Regions from separate parts of the Homo sapiens genome. Here all the other regions are linked to region 2. The links are contacts of gene promoters, found by promoter capture Hi-C in human tissues and cell types (Jung and others, 2019). All regions are on one chromosome and are shown on one strand. The core of a region is centred on a gene start or on the middle of the fragment in contact, and the rest is flanking DNA. Distances in the headings are between cores, read along the strand shown. Region 1 overlaps RALGAPA2 (Ral GTPase activating protein catalytic subunit alpha 2). Region 2 holds the start of INSM1 (INSM transcriptional repressor 1). Region 3 overlaps CFAP61 (cilia and flagella associated protein 61).

Region 1 (4,255 bases), core at 132-2,631, 41 kb before region 2:
TTTGTTTTCTATGTATATTTTAGCCTCTGTATAAACTAATTTGATCTTTTCCAAACATCCATAATTATTTAAACCAATAGAAATGAGTGAGATTCTAGGAGCAATTTGAGTTTTTAAGAACTCTACTTGGAGAGGATTGTCAATAGGCTTCTTCAAGAACGTCATATTTTTGAAAATTGCTTAGCAGAATGAAGATTCTGACAGCATGTGAGGGTGGGCATTGGAACTCTTCTAAAAGGAACGTGAAACCAAACATGGAATATCAAGACAAATGCTACTCCCTCCGCTTTTCAAATTATTAACATCAGTATTACATTTCATAGTGTTCATGGTTTAAGGAATTCAGTGTTGAGTGGGAAACATTTTTATACGTCTATCATGCCTATCCTTAAGTGTGATTTTTAAGTCTAGGCATAATGTTCTGTTTTAATTCTTTGCATATCTTCTCATAACGCTGAGTAGGAATGAACTAGATATAATCTTGATTTGAACTGAAATGTGGGGCAGTACAATGAGGACAGAGCATTTCAGCACCATAGACAAGCACGTTTTCGGAAGCATCTTCTAGCTTACATACTGGCTTCGCTTTTGAGGAATCCCTGTCCACTATCTGTTACTACTTCTACAGATGAAAACATTTGTCATTTGTTTACACTGTTATGTTCTTGGGACAAGGGCGATCAAACCCAGATGAGCCAGCCAGCTTAAACTAAGAAATTGAGGTGAAGTCTGTTCTTCCAAGCAACAAGCCAACTGGAAAAATTGACCCTGAGCGGCTTAAGCTCCCACAGTGCACTTAGGACCCAATCAGACCATCTCTGGCCCTCAGTGTCATCAAAGCAGGGCCTTGGGCTTGGGCTCACATGCGTATGCACAATCTGAGGAATTAGGGGCTCCTAGGTTTTCTTTGTATCCTCACCACCAGGACTTTATTATTAATGAAGAGGGAGCATCACCTGAACACTGCATTCATTCTGCACTGTATTGGTAGCAGCAAGCCAGAAAGCAGCATGCAGCCCCCACTTCTAGAGGGAAAGCCCCAAAATCAGCCTTTAAGTCTGAAGTAAAAGTGGGAGATGCACTCGGTGGGAATGGCCTGTGCCTGAAGCTTCCACTGTTGGAAAATGCCCTCTGCTTCTGACTCTCCCCATCCAGGTGCTGTTACCCATCCGCCCAACAAGCCCTGCGGGGGTGGGTTGGCCAGGTGAACAGGCTTGCGTTCAGGATGCGCCGTCAACCACACATGGTGGTGTAGCTGCTAATATATGAGCGCTCGGCATTTTTCAAAGAGCTTTCAAAACAAAATCTATTTTCCTAATGAGAAAATATTTTTAAAGACCATCGTATCTACCTTGTATCTATTCCATCCATTACTTGTATTGATAACACCTGACATGTAAAGATATTTCAACTACTTTTTTACCTAGCACTATAGTTTACCTTCCTTTTTTGACCAGCATTAAATAATCTAAAATGTAGCCAGTATTAAAATATTGGTTGCAATTAACATATATATGTTTTATGTATAAATACATTTATATACACATATACATTTCTCTCTCACACACACACACATATTGGGGTGGGGGACTAAATTTGTGCTTTCAATCATATCACCAAGAAAGAGGGACCGGCAGAGAGGCCTTGAAAGGGTTAACTGGAATGGGCACCCTCGACTGCTGGGAGGGACTGATGTAATCACTGCAGCTCACAGCCAAGTGCATCTGTTCACCATGAGGTCATTCTTCTGCATGCTAATGATTTGGAAAATCAAGTCTAGTGTTTGACATTATCAGAAAAGATATAAATAGTGTAAATCTTTGCTTTTTAGAAGTTGCTCTTATAAAAGAGAAAAAAAGGAACTTTACATTGGACCTGAGATTTTTTTCAGAACTGCCTTAAAGATTGTGTCTGGATCTAAAAATTTTGGAGGAATCCACTTGTGTCTGTTGATCAATCAATCCCCAGATCACTATTACGGTCACAGCTAGCAATCTGGTAGCCAAGGGCTACAGGTATGTCTCATTTAATATCTAATTTTAAGAATTTCCAAGTGCCTTTGTCAGAAGTTGATAGATTTTTCTCAAAGAATGTTCAAAACCAAGTTAAATGAGTGGTTCTTCTCGGAATACCCAAACTGACTTGTGTTTGCTGAAGATGCCAATACTACGTATGGTTCCTTTCTGCTTCAATATTGCTATAGAGAGCCAGCAGAGGGAGCACAGGTCTTTGTTTATTTGTTAGCCCTGCATAAACACAGCATTTGATTTCTCCAAGATATGGTCAGAAATACTTCCTCCTTTATGATAGGCTGGATTGTCAAGGCTCCAGGATTTAGAACAAGTGGGAGAAAATTCCTCACTATGCTTCATCAGAGTCTGCCACTTTTAATGTAGGTCGTATTTGGAGCTTAAACCAGATTAGTCTGAGTCGGTCTTAGGATGCCACTGCCATTCCTGCTACTGCACAAAACTGCAAACTTTCATCTTTCACACAATTGCTTGGATGCCCTCGTGGAAAGGGTTATTATTGCCACTTACCTAATGAAAAAGACTTCTGTAGCTTTTCTTCTACAACACAGTCGTTATGTTAAGTTTGCAGAACCTTTGCCAGAAGACTCTGCCTGGTGTCACTGAGTCATTTTGGTGGCCAATAAAATCTTCTCCTAAAACTGCAGATGGAGGCACTTATGTTACACATTCGCCCCAAAGCAAATCTGAGATGTAGACACTACACAAACTCCTCTTAGAACTCACCAGCCTTTGCCCAGAGGGATATGGCTACACCCAGCTTTTGCTTGCTAAGGCCTCCGCGCCATATGCAGCTCGTCATTCCGCATGCAGTCCTGACAGGCAGTCTTCCTTGGCCGTTTCACTGGGCAGTTAATAATCAAGTTAATTCCCAGAAACAGCACAAGTAAATCCTAACCCAAACCACCAAAAAGAGTTTCCCCGCTCATTGAAAGGATAGTCATGTGACAGACTCATCACATTCATATTCATTCCCTCCCTGTTAAAGTGGTCTTAATACGGTTTTAATTAATAGTGCTTCTTTTGAATTGTATGTGTTCAGCTTCCCCATAACTTTGCTGAAGCCAGCAAAGAACATCATAGAATGTTGAACTAGAAGGGACTTCAGGAAAGATCATGTCTAACCCTGTCACATTAATTTGGAGCAAGCTGAAGACCAACCCAGGAAGGGACCACCGAAGGTCATGGGCAAGTTGGAATCAGTGCCAACTCAATCTTCACCTCCCCATTTCACATGGAAATGCCAGCCCTGTGCCCACCCTATAGTGATAATCCCATAATCAGAGCCGTAGCTACCAGCTCTTTATTCATACTAAAGGCCAGAGTCAAATTTTACTCTATTCAGATAATACAGAAGTTTTCCCTTTTGGTCTCACTCTGTCGCCCAGGCCTGGATTGCATTGGTGTGAGCACAGCCCACTGCATCCTTCCCGTCCCAGGCTCGAGCAATCCTCTAGCCTCAGCCTCCTGAGTAGCTGGAACTACAGGCATAAGCCACCACATGCAGCTAATTTCTGTATTTCTTATAGAGACAGGGGTTCACCATGTTACCCAGGCTGGTCTTGAACTCCTGGGTTCAAGCGATCTGCCCACCTCAGCCTCCCAAAGTACTAGGATTACAGGTGTGTGCCACTGCACCTGACCCAAAAGTTTTCCTTAAATACAAACTATCTTATATGACCATCTATTCAATAACTCAGCCATCCCACTCAGCACCCTCAGCACACTTGGCTGTAGCTGGCCAAAGTGTTGCCACATGTCCTACAGACAACTGCCTTGGACAGATGTTTCTTCTACCCCCATAATCCCTTCTGGACACAGCCCAAGTCTTCCTTCCCTCATAACCGGCTTGATTCTGACCACTTTTGCTTTGATTTTTTTCCAATTTAAGATGTATTCTTCTTGGAAAGATGGTACAACATTGATAGAAAGTTTTTTTTACCAGCTATCATTCCATCACCAAGACCCAGTGGGATTCAATTCTGGCTTCACATTGGAATCCCCTGTGAAGCTGTAAAGATACCGATGCTTGAGTCCCTCCACTAGATTCGGATTTATTGGTCTGGGGTGTGACCTGAGCATGGAATTTTAAAAAAGAAAAAAAAGAAAAAACTGAGGGTATTTTAACGTGCAGGCAGGACTGAGAACCACTGCCCTAAATCCTCTCTGAAATATTTAGGCCTTAATTTTAGTGCCATCCGACTTGTGGTTACATATATCTTGAT
Region 2 (4,369 bases), core at 1,285-3,784:
CAAAAAAATCTGCAATCAAATAATATCATAATCTTCATAATTAATATAAATAAATAAAGAATAAATAACAATTACTCATAAATCAACATATACATTTAGAGGGAACTGATAGTCCTACCTCAACAAAGATGATCAAACCAAAAAGTCTTACGTGAAACACTGAGGCAGTTACTACAGCATCTTCGGAACACTCCCTTCCCTCCCCCCACAAAACAATCCCAGACAACAGTTCAAGGCATTTGTGGCTATACTAAAGAAAACTCTTTTTTAAGCAATTTGATTTGTTCACATACAAAAAGGTAAAGCCAGACTCCAGCAGTTCACAAGCCATAATAAAGCTAATCGTGTGGGAAGTTCAATTTACAGCCTGTGAAATATAAAGGCATTTATTCCTCAAGATTCACCCAAAACAACCCGTACGCTACATACATAGAGAGCAGAGATTGGTAGGCGAGGCGAGACCAGACCGCATTTCTAGACCATGAACACAGCGAATACTAGCAAGAAAAAAAGCTTCTCCCCGCCAAGGGGAGGCTTCCAACCACGAGACAAACGCGTACAGCTTTTCTCCCTTGTACAGAAAGAGACTGACTCCTGTTGCGCCATGGGGGAGGCGGAGGGACACAACGTAAAAGTGGGGGTTCCAAAAGGAGTCAAAAGGAGAGTATGGGGTTACCGTCACGCCACACCGAGAGAAGCGGAGACGACACTTTCACCCGGTGGGGGCGGGGGCGAGGCTCCCCCAGCGCGGACTCGGGTTCGGGGAGTGCAGGGCGCACTCTCTTTGTGGGTCTCCAAGCGAAGGCACAGTTCGGGGGCCGGGGTGGAGGGCGCGCTCTAGCAGGCCGGGCGCACGGGCACCTGCAGGAGGATCACCTGTCTGTTTTCGGATGGGTGGCACTTGTTGATGTGCCGCGTAAGGCCGGGCGAGCTGTAGAAGGTGGCCGGGCAGTACTTGCAGGGGAACACCTGGGCGGCGTGCAGCAGGCGCAGGTGGCGCTCCTGAGCGCCCTTGCTGGCGAACGACTCTCCGCACACTGGGCACAGGTGGCACTCGGCGGACGCACTCAGGCCCAGCACGCCGGCCCCCTCGCCGTCGCCGGCCGCCTCCTGGGGCGCCTTCTCGTCGGGCCCGGGGTACAAGGCCAGTAGGTCCTCGGCCGGGGGCGCTAGCGGCGCGCCCTTGGCCTGCAGCGCCTGGTGGTGCGCCAGCAGGTGCTTGCGTAGGTAGGCCTGGCGGCGGAACTTCTTGGCGCAGTGATGGCACTCGTAGAGCCCGTCCTCGGAGCCCGACTCGGACACGCCGCCGGGGCTCGGCGTGTCCCGGTCGCTGCCGCCGCCGGGTGCCTCCCGCGCCTCAGCCCTGGCTGCTGCTTCTGGCTCCGGCGCGCGGGCGGCGGCGGGCGCGGGCCGCGGTTTGTGCCAGCGGCGGTGCGAGGCCAGGTTGGCCGGGCAGCTGAAGACCTTGGCGCACTCGGGACAGCGGTACTCCACACGCACGATGCGCGAGCATTTGTGCTGCGCCAGCGCGAACGGGTCGGCGTACTCCTCCTTGCACAGCTGGCAGATGAACTCGCCCAGCGGCCGCGCCGCGCCCCCCGCGCGGCCCCGCGGCGCCTCCACCGGGCCCTCCTTGATCTTGAGCCCCAGCACGGGCGACGTGGTCACCTCGTCCTCGAAGTGCAGCTTGCGGATGGCCTTGGGCTTCTTGGCGCCCGGGGCCTTGACTGCCTTGGCGGGCGGCTCCGCGGCGGTAGGGGGCGGGGGCCGCTTTCCCGGGGGCCGCAGGGCGGCGGCAGGGGGCAGTGGGGGGCCGGGGCCCGGGCCGCGGGCCGCCTCGGCGCCAGCCGAGAACGCCGTGCCCATCTTGAGCTCGGCGGGCGCGAAGAGCAGCGGGTCGCCGCCGCAGGTGCCGCCTCCGCCAGCTCCGCTCGCGCCGCCGCCGCCGCCCCCTCCGAGCAGCGCGGCGGGCGTGGGGAAGGACTCGGCCGAGACCGGCGAGCCCAGGTTGAAGCTGCGTTCGAAGTACTTGTGCTTCTCGTGCTCGCGGCTCACGGGCCGCGTGGGACTGTAGAGCGGCGCGGGGTGCGCAGCCTCGGGGTTGCCGAAGTGCGCGGCCCGCGGGCCCTGCGGGGGTGGCTGCGGCCCAGGCGCGCAGGCAAGCGCGGCGGCGAGCGCTGCATGGGCGCGCTCCGCGGGCGGCGGCGGCGGCAGCGGCCCGGGGACCGGGCTCGGCGCCGGGGGCTCGGCGCGGGCGCCCCCGCAGCTGGGCGAGAGCAGCAGTGCGCGGTCGCCGTCCTCGCCGCCGCGGACCCGGTAGGAAACGGGCGTGGACTTCTTGCTGCGCTTCACCAGGAAGCCGCGGGGCATGTTGGCGCGGCCCGAGGGCACGGCACTGGCTCGGTCCCCCCTCCGCGCTCGGCCCCGGCGGCCCTCAGTGCCCCCGGCCCATTGCCCGGGCGCGGCGGCTGCGGGACTCGCGTGGCGCCGGCGACGGCTCGGCCCAGCTCTGCGCCCTGCACGCGCGTCCCTGTCCCCGGGCCCGGCAGCCGCTCCCTTTTAACGGGGGGAGGGGGCCATTGTTCTCGCCTCCCGCTTCCCCTGGAGCCAATCAGCGCGTCCGCAGCTCCTCAGCCTGGCAGGGTGGGAGGGCGATGGGGCGGCCAAAAGGGGGCCGGGACTCGGGGGTCGCCCGGTAGGTGCGGCAGATGTACCTGAGGGCGCGGGGCCCCCGCGCGCGCCCCTGGTCGCCCCGCCCGGCGCCGCCGCCCCGCCCGGTCCAGGCACACGCCCGGCCCCGCCTCCCTTCACGGTCTGCTGCTTCTCTATGGGGAGGCGCACGTGCCTGGGCTTTGTGTCTCTCCTCCGGGGGGCGCGGAGCCGCCAAATGGGCCCGTCCATCAGCGCGACAATGCACGCCCCCCTCCCGCGCGGGGATTACCCGCGGGTCGCTAGCAAAATAGCAACAAAGGAGAAGAATGGCCCCAAATATGTCAGGAGGGTTCAATCCGCGAGCCGGAGCCGAGGGGGAAGTTGTGCGCGCTGATTGGGTGGGGGCGGGGGCGCGCCGGGGCGGTGCGGGGGAGATCGTTGCGGAGGCGCAGTGGCTCCGCGTGGTGTTTGGGAAATAAACAAGAATCCGAGAGAGCAGCAGGGTCCGGACGGCCTCCGCCCGGACCTTGGACGGATGGGCCGCTGGACCCAAGAGGCCAAGCAAAAGGGTTCCCCGGGGTTCCAAGTGTGGACAGGGGGCCCGGCCTTCTGGCAGTGGCCGAGGGCGATGTTTGTGCTCGCAGCCTCCGCGCGCCCACGGGGCTAGAGAAGGTTTCTTTCGAGTTTGAGAAGGAATTGGCACGGCCTTCTCAGTCTCCCGAAAGCGCGGGATTGGAGCGCGGGCGGGCTGGGCTGGGTTCCCAGAGGAACGTGAATTTCTGAACTTTTGGGTTCTTGGAGGCTTGGGAATGGCATCTTTGGCGGGGCCCGACCCAGGCCGCCCGGAGCTTCCGCGTGGTCCAAGGCTCGGTTAATCCGGGTCGAGTTGGCCGAAGCCCGAAACGCGCGGTCGGCCTCGTGCGCCCCAGTGAAGTTGGCTTTCTCCTCCCCGCGCGGCCTCATGCATTTTCATTCCGAGCGGGCATTTTGTTTGCCGGTTGACATCAGATGCTAAATCAAGGGCTCCAATCAAGGCGCTGCGAAATAAAGGGGCTGCCTGTCTGGGCGCAGCCCCCACGGAGCCGTGCCCCCTTCACCTTTGTGAAGGAAATTAACCTCCTGCTATTGAGCTCCGGTCGCGGCCAATCTGGACGCAAAAGAGACGCGTGCTGGACGGGGGGAGGGGGGGCAATCTGTACTCTGAGGCAGGCTGAGGCCTCCGAGAGGACAAGCCGCCTCCCCTGTGCCACCAGGAAGAGACAACAGCGAAGATTCCCCCCGCCCCCACCCCCACCCCCACCTCCGCTGCCGTTCCGTTTGGACCCAGACTGGGCCGCCTGCCTCCATCCTCTGTCCAGCCCAGCCCCGAGGAAACACAAAAGGCAGAATCTTCGGGGGACAGGGCAGAGAACCCCACGAGTGCGTAGTGGCCCTGATCGTCCAACACTGGGGAACAAATAGCCAAGCCACATAAAATGTCATATGCTGTGAGGAAAATGTCACTTTATTGAAAGAGAAGGAAACATTTTTCTGCAAAGCTTTGTATACCAGACAGATTTTGCTGAGTTTTACTTACGCTTAATTCCACTGAAGGTATTTAATTGTTTTGGATTTTCCCTCTGAAAATACCCTGGCGTAGAAATTAAACATGTAAAAATAGAGTCCACATGAGTCATAAGTTGTGATGGGGACAGTTGTTAGGCTTAATTAATTAAGG
Region 3 (4,063 bases), core at 1,046-3,545, 57 kb after region 2:
GCAACAAACTTGGGGTGTAAATCTCTTAGCCTGCTCAGGCTGACATAACAAAATGCTATAGATTGGGTGGCTTAAACAACAGAAATGTATTTCTCACTCTTCTGGAGGCTGAAAGTCCAAGATCAAGGTGATAACATAGTTAGGTTCTGGTGAGGGCTCTCTTTCTAGTTTGTAGATGGCCACCTTCCTGCTGTGTCCTCACATGACAGAGAGAGAGATAGAGAGAGAATCAGAGACAGAGAGAGAGTGACATCTGTCTCTTTCTCTCCTAAGAGTCCCATCCTTATGATCTCATTAAATCTTAATTACCTTCTAAAGACTGTATGTCCAGATACAGTCACATAGGGGGTTAGAGCTTCAACATATACATTTGGTGAGAGGACATAATTCAGTCCACAGCATTGGGGCTATACGCAAGGCTATCAGTTGGAAGACAGTAAGGCAATAGAGAAATTAAATAGTTAAATAATGAGATACAGAATAACTCAAGAAATGTTGGTTGGCATGGGTAGGATGGTGTATGTAATATGGGGGGGTATGCCATGTTTATTAGTCCGGAGCTGTTACATAATATATAATCAATGCATTCTAAAATTTGAAAAAATAATGGTACTTTAACAATGTTGCTCCACTGTTTTCTGGCTTGCATTGCTTCTGATGAGAAATCTGTTGTCATTTTCATCTTATTCGTCTGTAAAGAATGTGCCCGTGTCTTTTGTTGCTTTTAAGACTTTCTCTTTATTGTGGGTTTTGAGTAGTTTGATTATGATATGCCTTGGCATAGTTTTCTTCATTTTTTTTTATGCTTGAGATTCACTGAGCTTCTCAGATTTGTGAGTTTTCATCAAATTTGGAAAAATTTTGGTCGTTATTTCTTTAGGCCACTTGAAGTTGTCCCATTCCTCACTGATACCCTGTTCATGGTTTTATATTCTTTTTCCTCTGTGTGTTTTATTTTGGGCAGTTTCAATTGTTATGTCTTCAAGTTCACTTACCCTTTTCCCAGCGAGGTCTAATCTGCAACTAAGCCCATCCAGGGTAGTTCTTGTCTCAGACATTGTAGTTTTCATCTCTAAAAGTTTGATTTGGGTCTTTTATGTGTTTTCCACATCTTAACTTTTTAATCACATGGAATGCAGTTATAGTAACAGTTATAATAGCTGTTTCAACATACTTGTCTGCTAATTCTAACATCTGAGTCAGTTCTGGGTTGGTTTTGTTGATTGATTTTTCTCCTCATTATGGGTTGTATTTTCTTGTTTCTTTGCCTTCTCAGTAATTTTTTGATTAGGTATCAGAAATTGTATCATTTTGTTAGGTGTGGAAATTTTCAGTATTCCTATAAACACTCTTAAACTTGTTTTCAGATGTAGATAAGTTACTTGGAAAGCATTTGATACATTCATGTCTTGCTTTCAAGATTTATTAAGTCGGACTGCAGCAATGTTTGGTTTAGGACTAATTATTCCCTGCTACTGAGATGAGTCCCTTTTGTGTACCCTACCTATTGCCTCATTAATCTTAAAGTTCTCAAGTCTGGCTGGTGGGAACAGGCAGCGTTCCCAGCCTTGTGTGAGTATTAGACACTGTCATGCTTTTTCTAATCCTTTAGAGTGGTTCTTTCCCCTGTCTTGGGCAGTTTCCTTGCCCACATGGACTGACCAGTACTCAACTGAATGCTCCCAGGGGAGGCTTCTGCACATCTCCAAGCTTCTCTCTCTGTGCAACCTTCTCCTCTCCAGTACTCTGTCCTGACAACTCCACCTGCCTTGGTCTCCCCGGACCCTCAGCTCCCTCTCCCTCTGTCCTGACAACTCCACCTGCCTTGGTCTCCCCGGACTCTCGGCTCCCTCTCCTCCACTCAGGACTCTGCATGGGCTCTGCTTCCCCTTGCTGTGGCCTGGGAACTCTCTCAAGGCCGTCAGCTGGATCAACCACAGGGTTCACCTTCTTTGTTTCCCATCTCTCAAAGATCACAGTCCTTCATTGCCTGATGTCTAATATCTTTTTTAAAAATTTGTTTCTTACATTTTGGCAGCTATTTAGTTGTTTCATGTGGGAGGGTAAGTCTGGTTCCTCCCAAAATTTGAAAAAAGTTATAGAATTCCACAACATCTGCTCCTAGGATTTTGGATAAGGGTTTTGTGGACCTGTATATTATTAGAACCATCATCCTCACTGGTAGTAGATATAAATACAAACTCCAGAGTCTTCTTGATAGTTTTGCATTTTGTGGGGGCTGACTTCTGGTCAAGGTTGATTAGTTAGCTATGAGAGATACTGTAGACTGTTTCAGCCAGCCACACTCAAGATACTGTGTAGCATGATTTAGCCAAAATATCACAGGCCGGGAAGGGAAAGACTACAATTTCCAGACTCATGTCCAGTGTAGGTTCTACATGGGACTGAGTTTCATCCAAAGAGACAGCCCTGTGCAGGACGTGGACGATGGACATGAACACCATGAGGTGGAGATTCTGCCTCCACTCTATAAAACACCCTGAGGAGGGACTCTCCCTCACTCCATGGAACACCCTGAGGAGGTGCTTCCACTGCATTTCTTGCTTTTGCTGGCAAGCCTGGCTGTGGCAGTATTTGGTGTCAGCTGTAGCAGAAGGGGGCAGAAATCAGGGCTTAGTGTACCCATTTTGCTGGTGTGGATTTTGCCAGAGAGGATTGGTCATGGAGCTGGCAACTTTTGTGGCAGTTTCTCAGTTCCACAAATTCCTCACTGTGGCAGAGATTGGCTAGGTCTGCGGAGCCATTTTCTGAATTTTTCGTGGAAGGCAGTCTAAAGCCTGCTCCTCCAGCCCATTGAAGGAATTGTATAAAGCACCCATAACTGGCAGTATATTGCTTTCTGTTTAAACCAGCTAGAGAGGATTCTGCTGTCTGCAGTGGAACCTTAGCTGAGAGACGAACCATGGTACTTACAGTGTGGCTGAGGAAGAGGAGATGATCTGGCCCTGCCCTTTCCTGGTTCATGTGTGTCTGCTTTGCCAGGCTTTGCATTCTGTAGTTTCTTTTGAACAATCCGTTAAATGCTCATGTCAATTTTGTGGAGGGTTAGTTTAGTTAAAACCAGAACCAGATACACAAAAGCTGCAGTAGGTTCCAAAGTTAACTAATAAGGGCTGGGTGTGGTGGTAGTCCCAGCACTCTGGGAGGCTGAGGCAGGTGGATCATCTGAGATCAGGAGTTTGAGACCAGTCTGGGCAACATGGTGAAACCCCGTCTCTACTAAAAATACAAAAATTAGCAGGGTGTGGTAGCACATGCCTGCTACCCAGCTACTCAGGAGACTGAGGCAGGAGAATCACTTGAACCAGGGAGGTGGAGGTTGCAGTGAGCTGAGATTGTGTCATTGTGCTCCAGCCTGGGTGACAGAGCGAGACTCCATCTCAAAAAACAAAAACAAAAACAAAGTTAATTAATAAGGTTGACCCCTCCAAGCTGTGACACTGTCCCATTATGGTGTGTTGAGGCCATGTAGAATGCACAGCTGTCTTCCATCTGACCCAAGAGGGCACCCATGCGTGTGCTTTGAATACTAATAAAACATGATTTCTGTTTTTTTTTTAAAGATAAAATTATAAACAGAAGTTCTAATATTTTCTTCCTCCACACATGAATTATCCTGGGCATCTTCTGAGGTATTTTATCAGAGAGCAAAATTATTCTCCTGTCCCAAACATAATTTTTTTTTTGGCCAATCTTCTTATAATAGGTAAATGATGAGTCAAACACAACAACTGCTTTTACTAAAGAATGGTCATTGCATGATGGCAAACCTACTCCTATTTGTCCTGTATGAAGGAAACTTGACAGAAAGTCAGGAAACTCTGGTTCTGGTCCTATTGGTGCCACTGTCTTGGTTGTGGCACGTGGAAAGCCCGGCCACTCTGGTTCTCCCTTGCCTCACCTGTACGAGACAGGTGTGCGGGGCTGCAGTTAGGGTCTGCCTGGCACCCAGGAAGGAGAGCTGTGCTGTCTGCAAGCTTGCTGCAGGTCTTATTTCTAGGAGGAAATCGCAGTTCCCCTTCAATTCTTTTCATTTCATAGT

Evidence for each region. The method cuts DNA at HindIII sites, captures the fragments that hold promoters and counts their contacts. A contact is called where the count stands out against the background at its distance.
Region 1: a contact is called between a fragment that was not itself captured here and the fragment with the promoter of INSM1 in region 2, in 4 of the 25 tissues and cell types used here (H1 embryonic stem cells, dorsolateral prefrontal cortex, hippocampus and 1 more).
Region 3: a fragment that was not itself captured here is called in contact with the fragment with the promoter of INSM1 in region 2 in 1 of the 25 tissues and cell types used here (spleen).

The regions. Positions count from the first base shown.
Region 1 is chr20:20,406,049-20,410,303 of GRCh38, reverse strand. The region is part of intron 38 of RALGAPA2 (Ral GTPase activating protein catalytic subunit alpha 2); the gene reads left to right. Among named protein-coding and RNA genes, the nearest start is that of INSM1, 40 kb to the right of the region's middle. The HindIII fragment of the contact is 3,302 bases long and covers 1-3,032 here.
Region 2 is chr20:20,366,269-20,370,637 of GRCh38, reverse strand. INSM1 (INSM transcriptional repressor 1) reads right to left here and starts at 2,534. Exons shown (of 1, transcript NM_002196.3): 1 at 1-2,534. The coding sequence starts at 2,370. The coding sequence ends at 838. RefSeq lists an enhancer at 2,671-3,441. The HindIII fragment of the contact is 4,823 bases long and covers 134-4,369 here.
Region 3 is chr20:20,309,353-20,313,415 of GRCh38, reverse strand. The region is part of intron 25 of CFAP61 (cilia and flagella associated protein 61); the gene reads right to left. Among named protein-coding and RNA genes, the nearest start is that of CFAP61-AS1, 44 kb to the right of the region's middle. The HindIII fragment of the contact is 6,749 bases long and covers 1-4,063 here.